2 separate regions of the Homo sapiens genome follow, and region 1 is linked to region 2. The links are contacts of gene promoters, found by promoter capture Hi-C in blood cells and fetal thymus (Javierre and others, 2016). All regions are on one chromosome and are shown on one strand. The core of a region is centred on a gene start or on the middle of the fragment in contact, and the rest is flanking DNA. Distances in the headings are between cores, read along the strand shown.

Region 1 (4,503 bases), core at 1,367-3,866, 510 kb before region 2:
GCCAGGCTTTTCCTGCTTCAGGGCCTTTGCACATCTGTTCCATCCATGTGGATGGGTCTGTCTCCTCTCTACATCTGGCTAAGCTCTGCTCATCCTTTAGGTCTCCACTGAAGGATCTCATCCTTAGAGAAATGTTCCCTCATCTAAATTAGGTCCCCCAGGAGATGTTGACCAAAGGGTAGTTTCAGTCAGACAAAAGGAGTACATTTTTGAGATCTATTGCACAGCATGGTGACCATAGTTAATAATAGCGTATATTTCAAAACTGGCACAGGAATAGTTTTTTTTTTTTTTTTTTTTTGAGATGGAGTCTCGCTCTGTTGCCCAGGCTGGAGTGCAGTGGCGTGATCTCGGCTCACTGCAAGCCCCACCTCCTGGGTTCACTCCATTTTCCCACCTCAGCCTCCAGAGTAGCTGGGACTACAGGCGCCCGTCACCAGGCCGGCTAATTTTGTTTTTGTATTTTTAGTAGAGACGGGGTTTCACCGTGTTGGCCAGGATGGTCTCGATCTCCTGACCTCGTGATCCACCCGCCTCAGCCCTCCAAAGTGCTGGGATTACAGGTGTGAGCCACTGTTCCCGGCCAGGAATAGATTTTAAATGTTCTCACTATAAAAAAATAAGTATCTGCAGTGATGGATATGTTAATTAGCTTAATCATTCTTCAATGTGTATGTATATAAAATACCACATTGTACTTCATAAGTAGATATAATTATTATTTGTCAAAAATAAAAATTTAAGTAAAAAAGTAAATCAGGTTCCCCAGTTATTCTCTTTCATAGGATCCGTGTCTTACCATGTTGTATTTGTGTTAGATTAATTTGATGTGTACTTCTTACACTAGACTGAACTTTATGAAAGTAGGGATCATGTGTGTTTTAATCATTACTTAATCCCTAGCATAGAACATGACAGCTACATGTAGTAGGCTCCCAATACATCTTTGTTTACTCAGTGTCAGACAAAGCAGGTTTGGAACCCAAATATTCTGACTCCAAGGTCCTGCCTCCCAGTACTGATAAGAACTAGGAAAGAAGCTAACACTTACTAGGTACCTTAAAGAACTAGTTTTCTAAAGAATTCTCTCTGGGAAATGCTGGTTTAAGATAAATGTAAGACTTTCCATTTTACAAACACTTTTAGGCAAGCGCTTTGCTTCTGGATCAGCTGACAAAAGCGTTATTATCTGGACATCAAAACTGGAAGGCATTCTGAAGTACACGTAAGTAACTTAGGTGTACAGTATTATGAGTTTGATGCTTATTGAATAATTGCAGCAAAAGCCTCTTAGAAAAGATGTAGGAGAAAACTTTTTTCTCTTAAATTGAACTTGAAATTAAGTTGTGGGTGTGTGTGGTTGGTATAGGAAGGTTGAGTAGTGAATAAGTTAATGAATATTTCTTGGCCACTTACTGGCGTGGCCAGCACTGGGCTAGGTGCTTTTATGTAGCTCATCTCAGTTCATCTGACATTGTAGACTTTATCCCACCCCCAACCTGTCATCTTCCAGTGTCCCTGTCTCAGAGAATGGCCTTATATCCACCCAGTGTCAAATGTCAGAAACTTGGGGTCAGTGTGCTCCAGGCCTCCTCTTACTATTGGGGATCTGCCGTGTTCTTCCCCTGTTCCTCTACTAGTTGGTCCCTATTTACCCTGCAGATCTCAGACTCAAATGTCAGTTTCTTTGTAAGGACTTTCCTGCCTCTCTAGACTGGAACAGGTCTCTTTCGAGGCATTTCTCACAATTGCAGTTTTAGGTTTATTCTGGTGACTGATCAGTATTGCTCATCGGCCTGTAAGTTCCATAAGAACAGATACTGCATCTATTTTTTGTTTTGTTTTGTTTTGTTTTGAGACAGAGTCTTGCTCTGTTGCCCAGGCTGGAGTGCAGTGGCACGATCTCGGCTCACCGCAAGCTCCACCTCCCAGGTTCACGCCATTCTCCTGCCTCAGCCTCCCGAGTAGCTGGGACTATAGGCGCTCACCACCATGCCAGGCTAATTTTTTGTATTTTTAGTAGAGATGGGGTTTCACCATGTTAGCTAGGATGGTCTCGATCTCCTGACTACATCTATTTTTTTTTTCTCACTCTTGTGTCCCTGATACAATGCCTAGCCCATAATTGGTACTCACCAATTTTCCTTCCTTCCTTCTTTCCTTCCTTCCTTCCTTCCTTCCTTCCCTCCCTCCCTCCCTTCTTCCTTCCTTCCTTCCCTCCCTCCCTCCCTTCTTCCTTCCTTCCTTCCTTCCTTCCTTCCTTCCTTCCTTCCTTCCCTCCCTCCCTCCCTTCTTCCTTCCTTCCTTCCTTCCTTCCTTCCTTTCTTTTCAGTCTTGCTCTGTCTCCCAGGCTACAGTGCAGTGGTAACTAGCTCACTGCAACTACAACCTTCCAGGCTCAAATAATCCTCTTACTTCAGCTTCCCAAATAGCTGGAACTGCAGGTGCACACCCCCACACCAGGCCAATTTTTAAATTTTTTTTTTTCTTGGTAGAGACAGGGTTTCACTTTGTTGCCTGTACTGGTCTTGAACTCCTGGGCTCAAGCAGTCCTCTCAAAGTACTGGGATTACAGATACGAGCCACTGCACCTGGCCTCTTTTCAATTGTGGTAAAATATACATGACATAAAATTTATCATATTAACTACTTTTTAAGTTTACAGTTTAATGTTAAATACATTTACATTGTTGTGCAACCAATCTCCCAAACTCTTTTATCCTGCTAAACTAAAATTCTATATCCTTCAAATACCTACTCACCCTTCTCTCCTACCCCCAGCCCCTGAAAACCAGCATTCTACTTTCTGTCTCTCTGAGTTTGACTGCTTTACATACCTCATATAAGTAGAGTCATACAATGTTTGTTCTTTTGTGGCTGAGTTATTTCATTTCACGTAATGTCCTCAAGGCTCATCTGTGTTGTAGCATGTGTCAGAATTTACTTTCTGTGTTGTAGCATGTGTCAGAATTTACTTCCTTTTTTTTCTTTATTATTATTTTTTTTTATGAAGACGAGGTCTCACTATGACTCCTGAGCTCAAGCAATCCTTCTCCCTTGGCCGCCCAAACTGCTGGGATTACAGGTGTGAGCCACTGGGCTCAGCTTCCTTCCTTTTTAAGTCTGAATATTATTCCATTGTATATATAGACCACATTTTCTTTATCCATTCATCTGTTGATGGACACTTGTGTTGCTTCTGCTTCTTAGCTATTATGAATAATGCTGCTATGAACATGGGTGTACAAATCAACAAACAATTTTTGAAGGAATGAATGAATGAGTGAAGTTGTAAGTAAAGTATTACCCACAAGTGAAGGACTAAAACGGGTTGAGACGCCTTGCATGGTACATGATTTGCTCAGCTTTCATTGTTGTCTAAGGATTTGTCATGTTTCCAGATCTTGGTCTGTGATGTCTTCATTGCACCTCCATCTTCCATTTCTGGGCCTCCACAAAACAGTAAGAGTAACAGCCACAGATAAAGCACCTAAAGGCCAAGGTGGGAGGATTGATTGCTTGAGGCCAAGCGTTCAAAACCAACCTGGCCAAAAGTGAGTCCCCATCTCTACAAATAAGAAAACAGTGGGTGAGGAGAAGGAGAATTAATTCTTTAGGAGTAGGAGAATTAATTTCTGTGCTTTTTGTTGGTCACTTGCAGAAGAGCATGTGGTCTAAAGTCAGAGGCTGTGGGCTCATTATTAAAATCTTCAGTTGTAGCCACTGAAATCTTTGTGGTTTGCTGCATAGTAATCTACAGTTGTTTACTTCCCAGGCACAATGATGCTATACAATGTGTCTCCTACAATCCTATTACTCATCAACTGGCATCTTGTTCCTCCAGTGACTTTGGTACGTTCTGATTCCTGATGTCCTGTCCTGGAATAACTGAAAATCTGGGCTAAAAATGCTAAAATGCATTCAGAATATGGTGATTTTATCCTGAGAGAGTTAATACTACTTCTCTACCTTCAATGGCTGAGGGGAGGCTGACAGTTATTCTTTAAATTGTGTGGAAACCAAGACAGTGAATGGTGACCTTTACTCTGGTAAGACATCAGAGACTACAGGAAGGGCCCCAGCAAAGGAAATGGTAACAAGATTGGGAGGGCACAGGCATAACTTGGTGTTGCTGCCTTTGGGAAGCCTTCCCTTGGTGTTGCTGCCTCTGGGAAGCCTTCCCTGACTCACCCTGGCAGAGACAGTGCAGTTGTCCTCACCTTTGTATTGACCCACATCTATGTTTATGTGAAATTCTTCACTGTTGCGGTTCTACTTCTTGTGCAATTTGTCGTCATTACTGGTTTAGGTGGCTGTAGCTGTCCTCCCTGAGGGGCTGAACACCTTGAGGAGTTCATCCTGGCCACGGTCCCGTGCCAGCATTACAGCACTGGTGTAGTACTGGCACAAAAGAGGTGTCAGTAAAATGTCTGTGGAGGGAGGAAGGGAGTGAAATTGGGCAGAGGCTTGTAGGTTATTTCCATTAATGGTTGATTCTGTTTT
Region 2 (4,126 bases), core at 486-2,985:
TTCATCTTAGCTAGGGTGGCATTTCTTCAAATCCTGGAGTCTAGTTGGGAGACCAAGCCTGAGGTTTCATGTTTGCAGTGTCTCCCTCACTGCCTCTGAACTTTTTGAGGGCTGGGGCTGAGCCTCATTCACTTCTAGGCCTTCAGGACCTACCAAGGAGTCTGACACCATAGTGGGTGCTTGTTAAATGTTTAGAGATGGGCCGGGTGTGGCGGCTCATGCCTGTAATCCCAGGACTTTGGGAGGCCAAGGAGGAGGATTGCTAGAGTCTAGGAGTTCGAGACCAGCCTGGGCAGCATAAGAAGACTCCATCTCTACAAGAAATAATAATAAAAAATAGCCATAAAAATTATGGTGCCTGGCTGTAGTCCCAGCTACTTCGGAGGCTGAGGTGGGAGGATCCCTTGAACTGGGGAGGTCAAGGCTACAGTGAGGTCAGATTGCACCACTGCACTCCAGCCTGGGTGACAGAATGAGACCCTGTTTTAAAAAAAAAGTTTCAAGATGGAGGCAGTCCCCAGGGCTAGATGTGGCAGTCCCACATCTGGGACTTTGGGAACTGACTCGGGGGGCAAGCTCCTTGGCACCCATGTGTTTCTCCTCCCTGCTTCCCCTCCCCTCCTTTGCTAGAGTTGGGTGAACTCCAATAGATTCCTGTGCAGGGGCTGCAGACTCGAATGTCCCTCCTCAGTGACAGGGGCAACACATTGGAAGACATTAGGGAGTGGTGGAGACTGTGGTGGCCGAGAGCAGCCAGGCTCAGCTCCACCTGGCTGTTGACAGGAGGAAATGGGGGCCCATTCTTTTTCAAGAGAAGCCATAAATCCAAAATTTTCTAAGTTATCTTGGTTTTAAAATGTTGGTTATTCAGATTTTTTTCAAAACACTGTGGAAGTCAATCAAAATTGTCCATGAACTGGTTGTAGCCTACAGGCCGCCACTTTTGGAATTCTGAAAGCTTTCCTCTGGCTCCTATTACACAGAGGAGAAAACTGAGGCCCAGAGAAACGGAGGCACTAGCCAGGAATGACACAGTTAAGATTAGCACCCTGGAGCCTGCGGGGTGGCTCACGCCTGTAATCCCAGAGACGCAGGAGTCTGAGGCAGGAGGATGACTTGAGCCCAGGAGTTCAAGGCTGCAGTGAGCCGTGATCGCGCCACCGCACTCCAGTCTGGGGGACAAAGCGAGATCCCATCTCTTTAAAAAAAAAAAAAAAAAAAGTAGAGCTCCGCTCCCACTTGCCCCCCATTCTCTCTCTCTCTCTCTTTCTCTCTCTCTCTCTCTTGCTCTACTCTCGCCCGTCTGCGTTCTACATTGGTTCTGCGGCCGTGTCCCTTTCGTGTGTGTCTGCCCTGTGTTTCTCCGTCGTCTCCGTGTGGATCTCGGTCTTTGTCTCGCCCTCTAGCTCTCTCGTGCGCCTGTGTTTAATCGTGCGCTTCTCTCAATCTCTCTGTCCCTCCCTTTGCCCCCTACACGCGTGTTCTCGTCAACAGATCTCCAGAGGTGGTGCAGAAACGACCCCGCGCCGGCGCCCCATCCTGCGGCCAGTGCCTCCGCGCCCCGGCTCCGGTCCCCACCGTCCCCGCCCCAGATTTCCGGAGGAGCAGGCGGGCGGGGTCCCGCGGGGCCGGCTGCCGTCAGCGCCCCTTCCCGGCGGCCGCGACCCCTCCCCGCTGACCTCACTCGAGCCGCCGCCTGGCGCAGATATAAGCGGCGGCCCATCTGAAGAGGGCTCGGCAGGCGCCCGGGGTCCTCAGCGCTGCAGACTCCTGACCTGCCGACTGCGGATCCCGAGTCCCCGGATCCCGGACCCATCCTGTGGAGCCCACTCCTGGCAGGTAACCGCCCCAACCCCTCTCCTTCCGCAGACGGTGTCCGGGAGCACTGGAAAGGGAGCCCTCTCGGCCCGCCCTCACCTTCGGTTCTCTGAGAGCTTCCTGGAGAACAGGGCCGGTGCACAGGCGGGCGCTGTGCTCGCACCCCCGGGTCCTCCCCGAGCGCAGGCCGGGGACCCGACGGGAGGCACGGCGCGGGCACATCGGAGGCTCTCGCTGCTGGGCACTCAGGTCGCCAGAGTCCGCAGCGCGGGGTGGGAGCTCCGCGGCACCCCCTGCCTGGGTGCCGCCGGACAGAGCTGGGTATTCAGGGCGTCGGCCTGAGAACCTGGGAGTTCGAATCCCAATCTCAACGCTAGAAATAGAATTTTAGCGTTGAAGTTAGGATTTTAGCGTTAGAATCAGATTCCTGGCTTAGTCATGAAAGCTTAGCATTAGAAATAGAATCTTAGCTTTGCAAATAGACTTTGAGCTTTAGAACCTGAATCTTAGCGATAGAAATGGGATCTTCGCGTTGGAATGAGGACGTCGGCCACGGAGCTTGGAGTTAGAACGTGGCGATGGGGACCTTTGGGGGAGTCTTGGCGGGGACGCAACCGTTAGCGTCGCGGCTGTGCCTGGCGCTGCAATCTCAATGGTTGCACTCCCGGCGAGGCAGTCCCAGCGTTGGCTTCCCCAGTTCCGCGTCACATTGAAGGGTGGCGGTGGCGCTGGCGATGGGGTTCCTACGGCCTCCTGCCTTGCGCAAGCAGAACTGGGCGCAGGCACTACAGGCACCCGTGGGGGCGAGGACGCCTAGAGGTGACAGGTGTGGACGCAGAGCCGGGGCGAACCCGCCGCTGCTCCCGCCCCTGCACGAGGGGCAGTGGTCCTGCTTCTGGGAGGGCGGTTGAACTGTGCGTGGTTTGTTTCTGGCGGGCGTCGGGGGAGATGGAGCGGGATGTGCTGTGATTCGGTGCGCTCAGGCTCCCTCTGTCCCCTAACCCAGACGCCGCGATGCCCGGCCCTTGGTTGCTGCTCGCTCTGGCTTTGACCCTGAACCTGACCGGTGTCCCCGGCGGCCGTGCTCAGCCAGAGGCGGCCCAGCAGGAGGCAGTGACGGCCGCGGAGCATCCGGGCCTGGATGACTTCCTGCGCCAGGTGGAGCGCCTCCTCTTCCTCCGGGAAAACATCCAGCGGCTGCAAGGGGACCAGGGTGAGCACTCCGGTGAGTGGATGGGGCTGTTGGGGGCTGTGGGGCTAGGCTATTGGGAGAGCCGTGGAAACCTGCCGGCAAAGGGGAGGGGAGGCTTGGTCAGCTAGCCTTCTGCCTTTCGGAAGCTCAGAAACCCTCCCTGGCTGCGCCTAGGCGGGATCTGGAGTTGACCATTCCTCGGGGTCAGATTCCTCCCCTGTCTCAATGCTGGGAATATTTCACAGAGAGCAGGCCCTGGGTGGGGAAGCTTCTGTGTGCTAGGGAGAGAGTTTCTTTGTGTGTGACAGTTTGAATTACTACTGTCTAGGCACTTCTGTGCCAGACACTATTCCAAGCACTTCAAACACCTTATCACACTGTTTGATCTTCCTAACAACCTCTTAGTTAGGTACTGTTATTACGATTTTACACAGAAGAAAACTGAGGCTCCCAGAGATCAATTGAGTCGCTTATGGTCAGACAACTAGGGAGCGCCAGAGCTGGGATTGGAACCCAGAGGCAATGCCTTTGACTATTGTGTGAATGTGTGTATCTGTGAGGCCTGAGGGGCAGGTGCAAGACCATGCCTCTGAGTGGGAGCTGCAGGAAATGTACCCTGCCTGGGAGAAAAGCAGGAGTGGGCACTCAGGCGCCTGCCTATTACATGGGTCAGGGGCCCCTCACTGACCTCTTTCCTTCCCCAGCGTCCCAGATCTTTCAATCTGACTGGCTCTCCAAACGTCAGCATCCAGGCAAAAGAGAGGAGGAGGAGGAAGAGGGAGTTGAAGAAGAGGAAGAGGAAGAAGGGGGGGCTGTGGGACCCCACAAACGGCAGCACCCTGGCCGACGAGAAGATGAGGCTTCATGGTCAGTCGATGTAACCCAGCACAAGCGGCAGCATCCTGGCCGGCGCTCCCCCTGGCTTGCATATGCTGTCCCGAAGCGGCAGCACCCAGGCAGAAGGCTGGCAGATCCCAAGGCTCAAAGGAGCTGGGAAGAAGAGGAGGAGGAGGAAGAGAGAGAGGAAGACCTGATGCCTGAAAAACGCCAGCATCCGGGCAAGAGGGCCCTGGGAGGCCCCTGTGGGCCCCAGGGAGCCTATGGTCAAGCGGGCCT

Evidence for each region. The method cuts DNA at HindIII sites, captures the fragments that hold promoters and counts their contacts. A CHiCAGO score of 5 or more calls a contact.
Region 1: a fragment that was not itself captured here is called in contact with the fragment with the promoter of TRH in region 2 in 1 of 17 cell types (neutrophils); the score reaches 7.5 in neutrophils.

Annotation. Positions count from the first base shown.
Region 1 is chr3:129,457,453-129,461,955 of GRCh38, forward strand. IFT122 (intraflagellar transport 122) reads left to right here. Exons shown (of 30, transcript NM_052989.3): 4 at 1,147-1,225; 5 at 3,776-3,852. Among named protein-coding and RNA genes, the nearest start is that of IFT122, 19 kb to the left of the region's middle. The HindIII fragment of the contact is 7,734 bases long and covers 1-4,503 here.
Region 2 is chr3:129,972,985-129,977,110 of GRCh38, forward strand. TRH (thyrotropin releasing hormone) reads left to right here and starts at 1,736. Exons shown (of 3, transcript NM_007117.5): 1 at 1,736-1,839; 2 at 2,825-3,043; 3 at 3,715-4,126. The coding sequence starts at 2,833. It also overlaps the pseudogene LOC124906284. The HindIII fragment of the contact is 1,305 bases long and covers 957-2,261 here.